Regions from separate parts of the Homo sapiens genome. Here regions 1 and 2 are each linked to region 3. The links are contacts of gene promoters, found by promoter capture Hi-C in blood cells and fetal thymus (Javierre and others, 2016). All regions are on one chromosome and are shown on one strand. Each heading gives the region's core, a stretch centred on a gene start or on the middle of the fragment in contact. The rest is flanking DNA. Distances are from core to core; before and after follow the strand shown. Region 1 overlaps SH3RF2 (SH3 domain containing ring finger 2). Region 2 overlaps PRELID2 (PRELI domain containing 2). Region 3 holds the start of SH3RF2 (SH3 domain containing ring finger 2).

What was found. Contacts are between HindIII fragments. The CHiCAGO score rates a contact against its expected background, and 5 or more counts as called.
Region 1: a contact is called between a fragment that was not itself captured here and the fragment with the promoter of SH3RF2 in region 3, in 1 of 17 cell types (neutrophils). The highest score is 5.1, in neutrophils.
Region 2: a fragment that was not itself captured here is called in contact with the fragment with the promoter of SH3RF2 in region 3 in 1 of 17 cell types (M0 macrophages); the score reaches 5.6 in M0 macrophages.

The regions. Positions count from the first base shown.
Region 1 is chr5:146,059,142-146,062,105 of GRCh38, reverse strand. SH3RF2 (SH3 domain containing ring finger 2) reads right to left here. Exons shown (of 10, transcript NM_152550.4): 9 at 1,882-2,240. All of the region lies in intron 1 of LOC107986458 (a long non-coding RNA gene), which reads left to right. Among named protein-coding and RNA genes, the nearest start is that of PLAC8L1, 45 kb to the left of the region's middle. The HindIII fragment of the contact is 2,110 bases long and covers 656-2,765 here.
Region 2 is chr5:145,826,185-145,828,956 of GRCh38, reverse strand. All of the region lies in intron 1 of PRELID2 (PRELI domain containing 2), which reads left to right. Among named protein-coding and RNA genes, the nearest start is that of PRELID2, 7.8 kb to the left of the region's middle. The HindIII fragment of the contact is 1,276 bases long and covers 809-2,084 here.
Region 3 is chr5:145,935,031-145,937,896 of GRCh38, reverse strand. SH3RF2 (SH3 domain containing ring finger 2) reads right to left here and starts at 1,319. Exons shown (of 10, transcript NM_152550.4): 1 at 1,203-1,319; 2 at 1-74. It overlaps LOC107986458 (a long non-coding RNA gene), which reads left to right. Exons shown (of 4, transcript XR_001742913.2): 4 at 2,134-2,196. RefSeq lists an enhancer at 1,004-1,581. The HindIII fragment of the contact is 1,154 bases long and covers 693-1,846 here.

The DNA.
Region 1 (2,964 bases), core at 461-2,960, 120 kb before region 3:
CTTCTGGAAGATTAAAGAAATTTACCTTGCCTCTCTCCTCTCTACGTACTATTAAGGCCAATCTCAAGTTTTTCCTTTTCTTTGAGGCCACTCTCCTGATGACTCCATTTAGAGATTTCCATAATGGCCTTATAAATCCTTAGAGCACAGTTTGCAAACTGGACACCTGCTGGCTGAATTTAGCCTGCAGAATGTTTGAGGGTTTGATCGACTCGCCAACACATAAAAATTGGGAGATTGCATATAAAAATCAGAATTTCATATGTCTCTTAAAAAAAAAATCAAAGCTCTGACGCACTGGGCCTATGGCTCATTCTGACAACAGCTGGCTGGACCTGAGAAGCAGTGCCCCCTTTATATGAGATGCAAGGTCTCCAGTTTATGCCAATTCCCCCTCTTCCTCTTTCCTTTCACATCTCCTAGCCTGTTATATATCTGCTAGGCACCCATAGGTACAGTATTTGCTTTAGCCAGTCTCTATCTCAGGGCCTAATAAAGCGTTCTGTGGTACTGCTCAGGAATGATGTCTTTCTTCCATGTAATGCAACCCTAGTATCCCCCACTAAGATCTGAGTTTCTTCATACGTTCTGATCCTCCTAATATCTAGCCAAGGTCTGGGCATTTATGAAATGCTTATAGTTGTATCTAAAAGCTTGGAGTAATGGGCAACTGGGGCCTAGAAAACTCTGAATTATTTCTATAATTCAGAATAAGAACTCCCAACCTTTATATATGTCAGTGCTTTTTCCAATACCTTTCCCTATGAGCTGATAGCTTAGCAGTAAGAGCATGAGTTTTGCATCAGATCTGGATTCTACTCCACACGTATGTGTCAACTGTGCGGTCTTGGGTAATGTTCTTTAACTCCCTGAGCTGCCATTTCCTAATTTTAAAATGAGGATGAAACTAATGCCTATTTGAGAGGGTTGTTGTCAGGATTAAATATATGGGACACATGAAGTACTCAGCACAGTGCCTGCCAGCTTGTTAGTATTCGATAACTGGTTAACCAATGGGGGAATCGCATCCTCTTTCCGTTCTGAGGGGAATGGACGATGATGGTGGAATGATGCTGATGGCGGTGGTGATGGAGGTGGTGATGGCGATGATGTGATGATGGTGATGTTCATAAATTAAGACAGCAATAAGCATCACCTAACTTTCTTACTGTCCTCTCTTCCCACTATTCCTCCTGCTTCAAGGATATTATTGAGAACATAAGCCTTTTACAAAAACTCTCACGTCTTCTAGTGGGAAATATCCTGGACTAGAAGTTAACAGATCTGACGTCTGCCACAGAGGTCACAATAAGGTAGTTGGAGTCATTATCATTCAGTGTGACCTCGATGTCACTTACATTATCCTGTGCCTCAGTTGCCCCTTTTATACAATGCATAATTATGTGTCAAACCCTATGTAAGCACTTCACATATCTCGTTTAATCTCCACTCCATTACTGTGTGGCCATTACTCTTTCTACCTCCATTTTACAGATTATGCAAACTAAGTGACTCAGAAGGGTGAAGTATTTTGACCAAAGTCACCCAGCTAGCAAGCAGCAAAGCTAGAATTCAAAGCAAGATTCATCTAATGCCAAAGTCATGCTTTTTTTTCAAGCCACTTTTGGGCCTCAAAAGATGTATAAAATATTCAGGAAACATAAAGGCGAATCAGTAACACATGTAGGGAGGGCGTGGGTGATGTTGGGGATGTTGGCCATGGCTCAGTGGGGAGTTGGGGAGGAGGAGTGTTATGTGTGAGGATTCTTTCGAGGCTGCAATTTTGGTTCCTTGTTCACCAACACTAAAATCTCTGAGCTGAGACACTATGCATAGTACGGGATCGAAAGAGTTGGGCCCCCAATGTCACTCTGATCCTACCTTTTCGATGCCATTTCTTGAGTTTTCTGGTTTCACCAGGATGGATGGTGGGGCAGATGCGGGCGGTTTTGGCAGAGGCTCACTCTTGATGGGGATTTCTTTGTCTTCCATAATGAGGGAGCTGGCCGCGGAGTGGATCCAGGCCTCACTGCCCCTGCTGATGCACGTGAGGGCGGGCTCCCCCGTGAGGGCAGGCTTGGACCCCATCTCCACCACCACGGCTGAGGGGGAGGAGGGGATCCCCTGTGGCTGGTAGAATTGGAACTGCTGAGGCCGAAGGACCATGGTGGGGCTGCGTCTGAGGGAGCCTACCACGAGAGTGGGGATCCCGGACTGGAGGGGTCTCTGCAGGGATCCATCTGGGGAATTATAGGACAGAGAGATCAGCAGCAGGGGCGGCTGGCAGTAGGTTGGGTGGGGCTGGGTAAGCAGTGCTTCCTGATATCCCAGAATAGACAAGCGCTTTCCTAATCTGACTGCACTCACATTCTCTCCGGGTCTTTCAAAGGTGACCTTATTCTTTTTTTAGTGCTGTTTGCTGATGCTGGCAGCAAATATCTCTCTGGCTGAATGGTGTGTGTGAGTGTGTATGTGTGTATGTGTGTAGGGGGGCTGTCAGAAGGTATATTGCTTCCATTTGCCTTGTGATACACACACACACACGCACACACACACGTACACACACACACGCGCGCGTGAAGCAGACACAGAGGCAGTCAGACCAAATAGGAAACACATGACAGAATCAGAGATAGGAAATAGAAGACATTGAGAAACACAAAGGAGAGGCAACCGAGAAGAATGAGAGAGAGGAAAAGGAGAAAGAGAGGAGGAGAGAGGAAAACTCTGCCCAGCGACTTGCTGTGAAAATCTTGACAGAAGCTTTAGGCATGTGGCAGGTGGGGGTTGCTTTTTGTCGGGGGCTGCAGGGAGAAAGGGTGAGTGGCAAGGGCTAGGCAAGCACAACAGCAGACAAAGGCAAATTTGGAAAGGTTATTCCACAGTTAGGGCTGTGAGGATGGGCTTTGCAATGTCTCATGACAGAGGATCTGGAATCAGACCTCCTCCTGGAAAGCCTGGGAT
Region 2 (2,772 bases), core at 197-2,696, 110 kb after region 3:
CTGAGTTAGGAGGATCGCTTGAGCCGGGAGGCAGAGGTTGCAGTGAGCTGTAATTGCATCACTGCACTCCAGCGTGGATGACAAAGTGAGACCCAGTCTCAAAAAAAAAAAAAAAAAAAAAAAAGATTTTTTTCACTATCTAAGTACATGGACCTGTCTTCAAGGAGTTCACTGTCAAAAGGGACAGAGGAGGATATATTAATTTTCATGATAAAGGCTTTCTTGGGGGCATATGGCAGACATTACATTGTAGTATGGGGCAAGATTTATATTTTAATTATAAATCCATGAAAGCATTTAAACTATTTAGAAACAGTTGTCTTTTTAAAAACAAGTAAATATTCTCTCCAGCACTCTTACTTCTCTGGTGCAGCCCTTTCCCTAATGCTAGTGTGGAGTGAAGTGTCAGGGAGGCCTTGTATCTTACACAAATTCCGAACTGGTAAAGCACGAGCTTCTGAGTTTTTTATTAGTCTAGGAAAATCAGATATATTATCTTCTAATCATTTTAAAATCATTGTGTAAGTATTTTTGGATTGCAGATAGATGCCAGCAATGTATTTAATGCCACACCACAGTAAATTGCAAGATAAAAACCAAAATCTTGAAACTTTTTAAGTCTTCAAAAGTGTTGATTCATTTGTTAGTAGCAAAACCAGCTACATTTATTTTCTACTTGCACAGTGCTAGGTATTATACTGTAATTAAATTGTTTCCTTTAATTCTTATAACAACTCTTTGAGGTAAGTATTTATTCTCATTTTACAGATGAAGAAACTAGGGCAGATTAAAGTGATTTGTCCAAGCTTCTCACAGATAGGATTCCAATTCAGATCTCTTGGGCTCTAAAATTCACTGTTTTCTAACATCGTGTCTTTAATTTTGTTTTTTATTTCTTTTCATTTATAAATAATTTGACTTATAAAACATTTCAAAAACAATATTGCAGAAACAAAGAATTCCCACATACTTTTTTCCAGCTTCCCCAAACCACAGTATACTTTTTAAAACCAGGAAATTAACACTGATACAATGCTATTAACTAACCTATAGACCCTATTTAGATTTTGTCAATTGTCCACTAGTATCGTTTTTCCAGTCTAGCATCCAATTCAGGACCCCACATTGCATTTAGCTGCCAGTGTCCTGCAGTGTAGGACGGTTCCTCAGTCTTTCCTTGCATTTCCGGACCATGGTGATTTTGAAGAGTGCTGGGCAGTTATTTGTAGTGTATCTTTAGCTGCACTGGGTTTATGCATACATTTGATGTTGTGATAAGAGGATTTTCCTCTGTGTTACAATGAAAAACTGTCTTTTCAAAACCTTCACTATGCCGTTGCTGATTATTGGGTCATTTTTGAAAGAAAGAGGCTGATGTGCTGTTGGTTGGCCTTTGTTTGGAACCATAGCTTTTCCTGGCCAGAAGGATCTTGGATGATCACCTGGTGGTTCATCACCCCGACCTCACAGATGGCAGCGTTGTAGTCTGCATGTCTTGGCTCGTTGCCCTTTGTTCTTTCTATTTCATCATCCTATTGAAAGACCAATGAACAGCCATTCCAAATACTTTTCAACTTAAGTACGTTTTGTCCTTGATCATTGAAATTTTGATTAATTTATAACTCGTTTCGTCTTGGTATAAAATCAACTTTGCTTTTCTTCTGAGATAGACTATGGTGTGGAGCTCATAAAAGGAATTTGGCATAGCTCATGGTGATTTCTTTCTGCTGCTAAACACCAAATCTCTTTTCAGCAGCCCCATCTCTTTGCATGTACATGTTTGGCAGCAGCCTAGATAACAGATTCCCTTAATGCTTATAACACGGGTATGTTAATATACCAGACTTACTGTAGGTCTTCTTTGCCTTCTTTGAAGGACTCTTCAGACAGATCTGTCAGTCACCTGCTTCCTTGTACTCTCTCTGGTAACCTCATTTGTAAATTGGTAGACAGTGACTCCTTTGGATGTCACTGACTGTTTCTGAGAGGGGAAGCAAATGTTATTAAAAAAAGGCATTGGCTTTTGAGCTTTTTGGAAAGTTCATATTTTAATAACTCTTTTAAGAGTAGGCTTTCTGAAAGCTTATGGGTTTTTTTTTCCCTCGGCAAATATGAATGCAAAATGTTATATCTTCATGAAGCTTCTCCCAGAAACATATTGAATATTCTGTAATTAGATGGATTCAGTTTCTTGCCTCTAACTTTTTATATATATGTGTTTGCTTTAATGCATATTCCCCCCCAATATTATGGAGTTCTTGGCTTATCTTTTAATATGTAAAAACTAAAGCAAGCAGATACAACAGCTTTAGGCACGTCTACATTTTACCCTTGTTAGACTGTTACATACATATGATATATACAGTGGTATTTGTAGTAGTTTCATGTCTTCGGGAAAGGAAAAGGAGTTAGTTTACACGTTCTGTGAAGAAATTAAAAATTATAAGGAAATGCAAAATGAAGTCAAATATACCTTTAAAAATCCCTTAAATCATCCATAAAGTAGTATAGCATACATGGCATATGTATGCAGCCTGTGGGATCGTTCTCTTGCACACTGCAGTTTGTGATCAGCTAAGCCAGGATCAAGAAAGACAAGGGCTTTTGGCAGATATCTGGGTCTTCAGATCACATTGCTTTCATGAGAGTCTCTAGTATGAAATGGGGATTGAAGAATCCCATGTGAACCTGCTTGTCTGCGGGCTTTACACTATTATATTTATAGCAGAAATACTCTGTATATTAATACTTGATAGGTTTCCACGCTTTGAG
Region 3 (2,866 bases), core at 70-2,569:
AGCAGCGTCCACATGGTAGGGTCAGTTGAGCCACGGGGGCAGAGCTGGTCTCTTGAGAACGTCAGAATTTTTGCCTGCTTGAAGGAGGGAGAGGAGAGAAAAAAAAATGTGACTGCTCCGAGAGGTATATCCCACCTACATTGAGGCAGTGTCTCATAAGGCAGTTTGCAAGTACTTTGTTCCGGCACCCAAGTTTCAAATGACTCATTCTGATTCAATGCTAGCAGGTATAAGACTCAACTCGTGCTTGCTGTGAGGATCAGAGGGAACATTCAGCACAAGACTGACTGCTTATTGCCTATGTGGACAGGAAAGCAGGGAGATAAACTGGCCTGCTGAAGTGGCCCCCCAACCCCTCTCTACCAGCCAGGGCGGGAAGAGGTCCTTTACCCCCTGCCCGGGGAAAGCTCCTGGACAGTCTCAATTCTTACAACAAAGCCCCCTCCGAACGCAATTTCTGTGAAGCTATCTCCTCCTCCTCCTTCCCCTAAATCTAAATGTATCTATTATCTGCACCACATGCAGATTAGTTTAGGTGGGTAAGTTTATCTGAATCTCATGCAGATGTAGAATTATTTCCTTCACAATATACCTTCCCACATGATTCTAGCAATGTACAAGAAAAATTTCCACTAGAAACCCATTTCCAAAAATTGTTTTGCCTTAACCACAGGTCAGGGTGCTTGGAAGCTTTGTTTCTTTTCTTTTTTCATCTTTTTTTTTTTTTCTCTCCTCATCCCGATTACCTTAGGCTCAGAGACAATGTTCCTCCCACAAGGTAAAGTAGTGCAGCCTGTTTAGTTACTTTGACATTGTTCTCAATTTCAAATGAAGCAGATAGGAATTCTGGATTGTGGTCACGACCTGTAAAAACCGTACTGGGGCAGCATATACAGGTAGGGGTCGTGTGTGTGTGTACTCTGAAAACAGTACTTGTTCCAGAAACAAGTTTCCTTTTGGATGTATGAAAAGAAGCCTCCAGTTTAGAAAAGTCTGGAAGAAGTCAGCTGTCCCTCACAAGTGCCAGGGCTTCGGTAAGCACCGAGCCCAGAGGTTTGGCGAGAAGGCCAGTGGCCCCACTAGCGACTAGTAAGCAGGACAGACACGACCGAGAATGAGCGATGGCGCCTCGCCTTCCTAAGCCTCCTCTCCAAAGATGTCAGCGCGGCAGCGGGCTGGGGAGGCGTGTGGGGGCCACTAACCTTGTGCATGTAACTTCTGCTGAGTTCAGCTCAGCCCCCTCCTCCGCGCAGCAGGGGTGCGCTGCGCCCTCCAACCGGCTTCCTTTCCTCCAAGCGCCGCTGCTGCCAACCGCTTTGAAAACTTTAACCACTCAGTCTTACTCATTTCAAGGGATCGCCTTACCCAGCCCTGTTAACGCTTTCACTGCCAGGGCGCTGCCTACTTACCACGCTTTTGTTGTTGCAGTTGTTAACTTTATGATCTTTCCTTCAGTTTACTGAATTGCTTCTGGGAAAAGATTGTAAGAGGTAAAATATAAGCCAGTCCCTAAGGCCAAGTATTTACAAAGTTCATATTTTCACCTTTCCCGTTTTCTGTAGTATCCAAGGAGTCAGAACCTGCTCCATTATAAACATACCAAAGTGATTGTGTTTATTTTAAATCTTCATAAGGATTTCCTGGGAAGGTCAAAAGTAAAAATGGTCAAGCTATGAAAACAAGGATAAGTCGGACACCTAGAAAATATTGCTCTTTGAAAATCATAGTCAATCTCTGAATTTAGAGATAAGAGGGACTTTAGTGATCTTTTTGCTCAATCTGTTTAAATTAAAAAACTAGTGTCACGTATATACACATACGTGAAAAATCAAAGCACAGAGAAGCTTTTTCAAAAAAGGAAAAGCAGTGGCCTCCAAGCTCTCCTCCTGCCTGTTATCCACTGTAGTCTTTTCATATCCTCAGATTATGCCTATATTTCTATTTTTTGATTTATCGATAATACATTTCATGTAAAATTACAAAGGTATCCGATTAAGTGAATAATAACAATCTTAATGCCAGGGTAGTCCTTATCTGTGTCAACCACTGTTCTAAATACCTTACCTGTGTTAGCCCTTTAACCCCTTAACAACCCAAGGAGACACTAAACTATTCTTTACTTTCATCTTGCAGATGAGGGAACTTGAGACACAGAGAGGATAAATAACTCATCTCGGGAGTCACAGCTAGCAGAAGGCAAGTGGGCTGTGCTCTTAACAATGTCATGGAGTGATATAACTTTAAGAGGCTGGCCAGGCGCAGTGGCTCATGCCTGTAATCCCAACACTTTGGGAGGCCGACGTGGGCAGATCACAAGGTCAGGAGATCAAGACCATCCTGACCAACATGGTGAAACCTCATTTCTACTAAAAATACAAAAATTAGCTGGGCATGGTGGTGCGCACCTGAAGTCCCAGCTACTCAGGAGGCTGAGGCAGGAGAATCGCTTGAACCTGGGAGGCGGAGGCTGGAGTGAGCTGAGATCGTGCCACTGCACTCCAGCCAGGGCGACAAAAAAAAAAAAAAAAAAAAAGAGGTGAAGAGGTGGTTCAAGGGAGCTAAGCCTCCCCTAAGAGGGCAAGAGGTCAAAAGATAATGGACAAAACTGGCTACTCACTTTCTCTTACAGATGAGGCAGCTGTGCCCAGAAAGATCAAGGGATTCTTTGAAGTTGTCCAGTGAGTTAGGGGCAGAATTGGGACTAGAAACTAGGTGTTTGAGGCCAGGCGCGGTGACTCATGCCTGTAATCCCAGCACTTTGGAAGGCTGAGGTGTGGGTGGATTGCTTGAGGTCAGGAGTTTGAGACCAGCCTGGCCAACATGGTGAAGCCCGATCTCTACTAAAAATGCAAAAATTAGCTGGGTG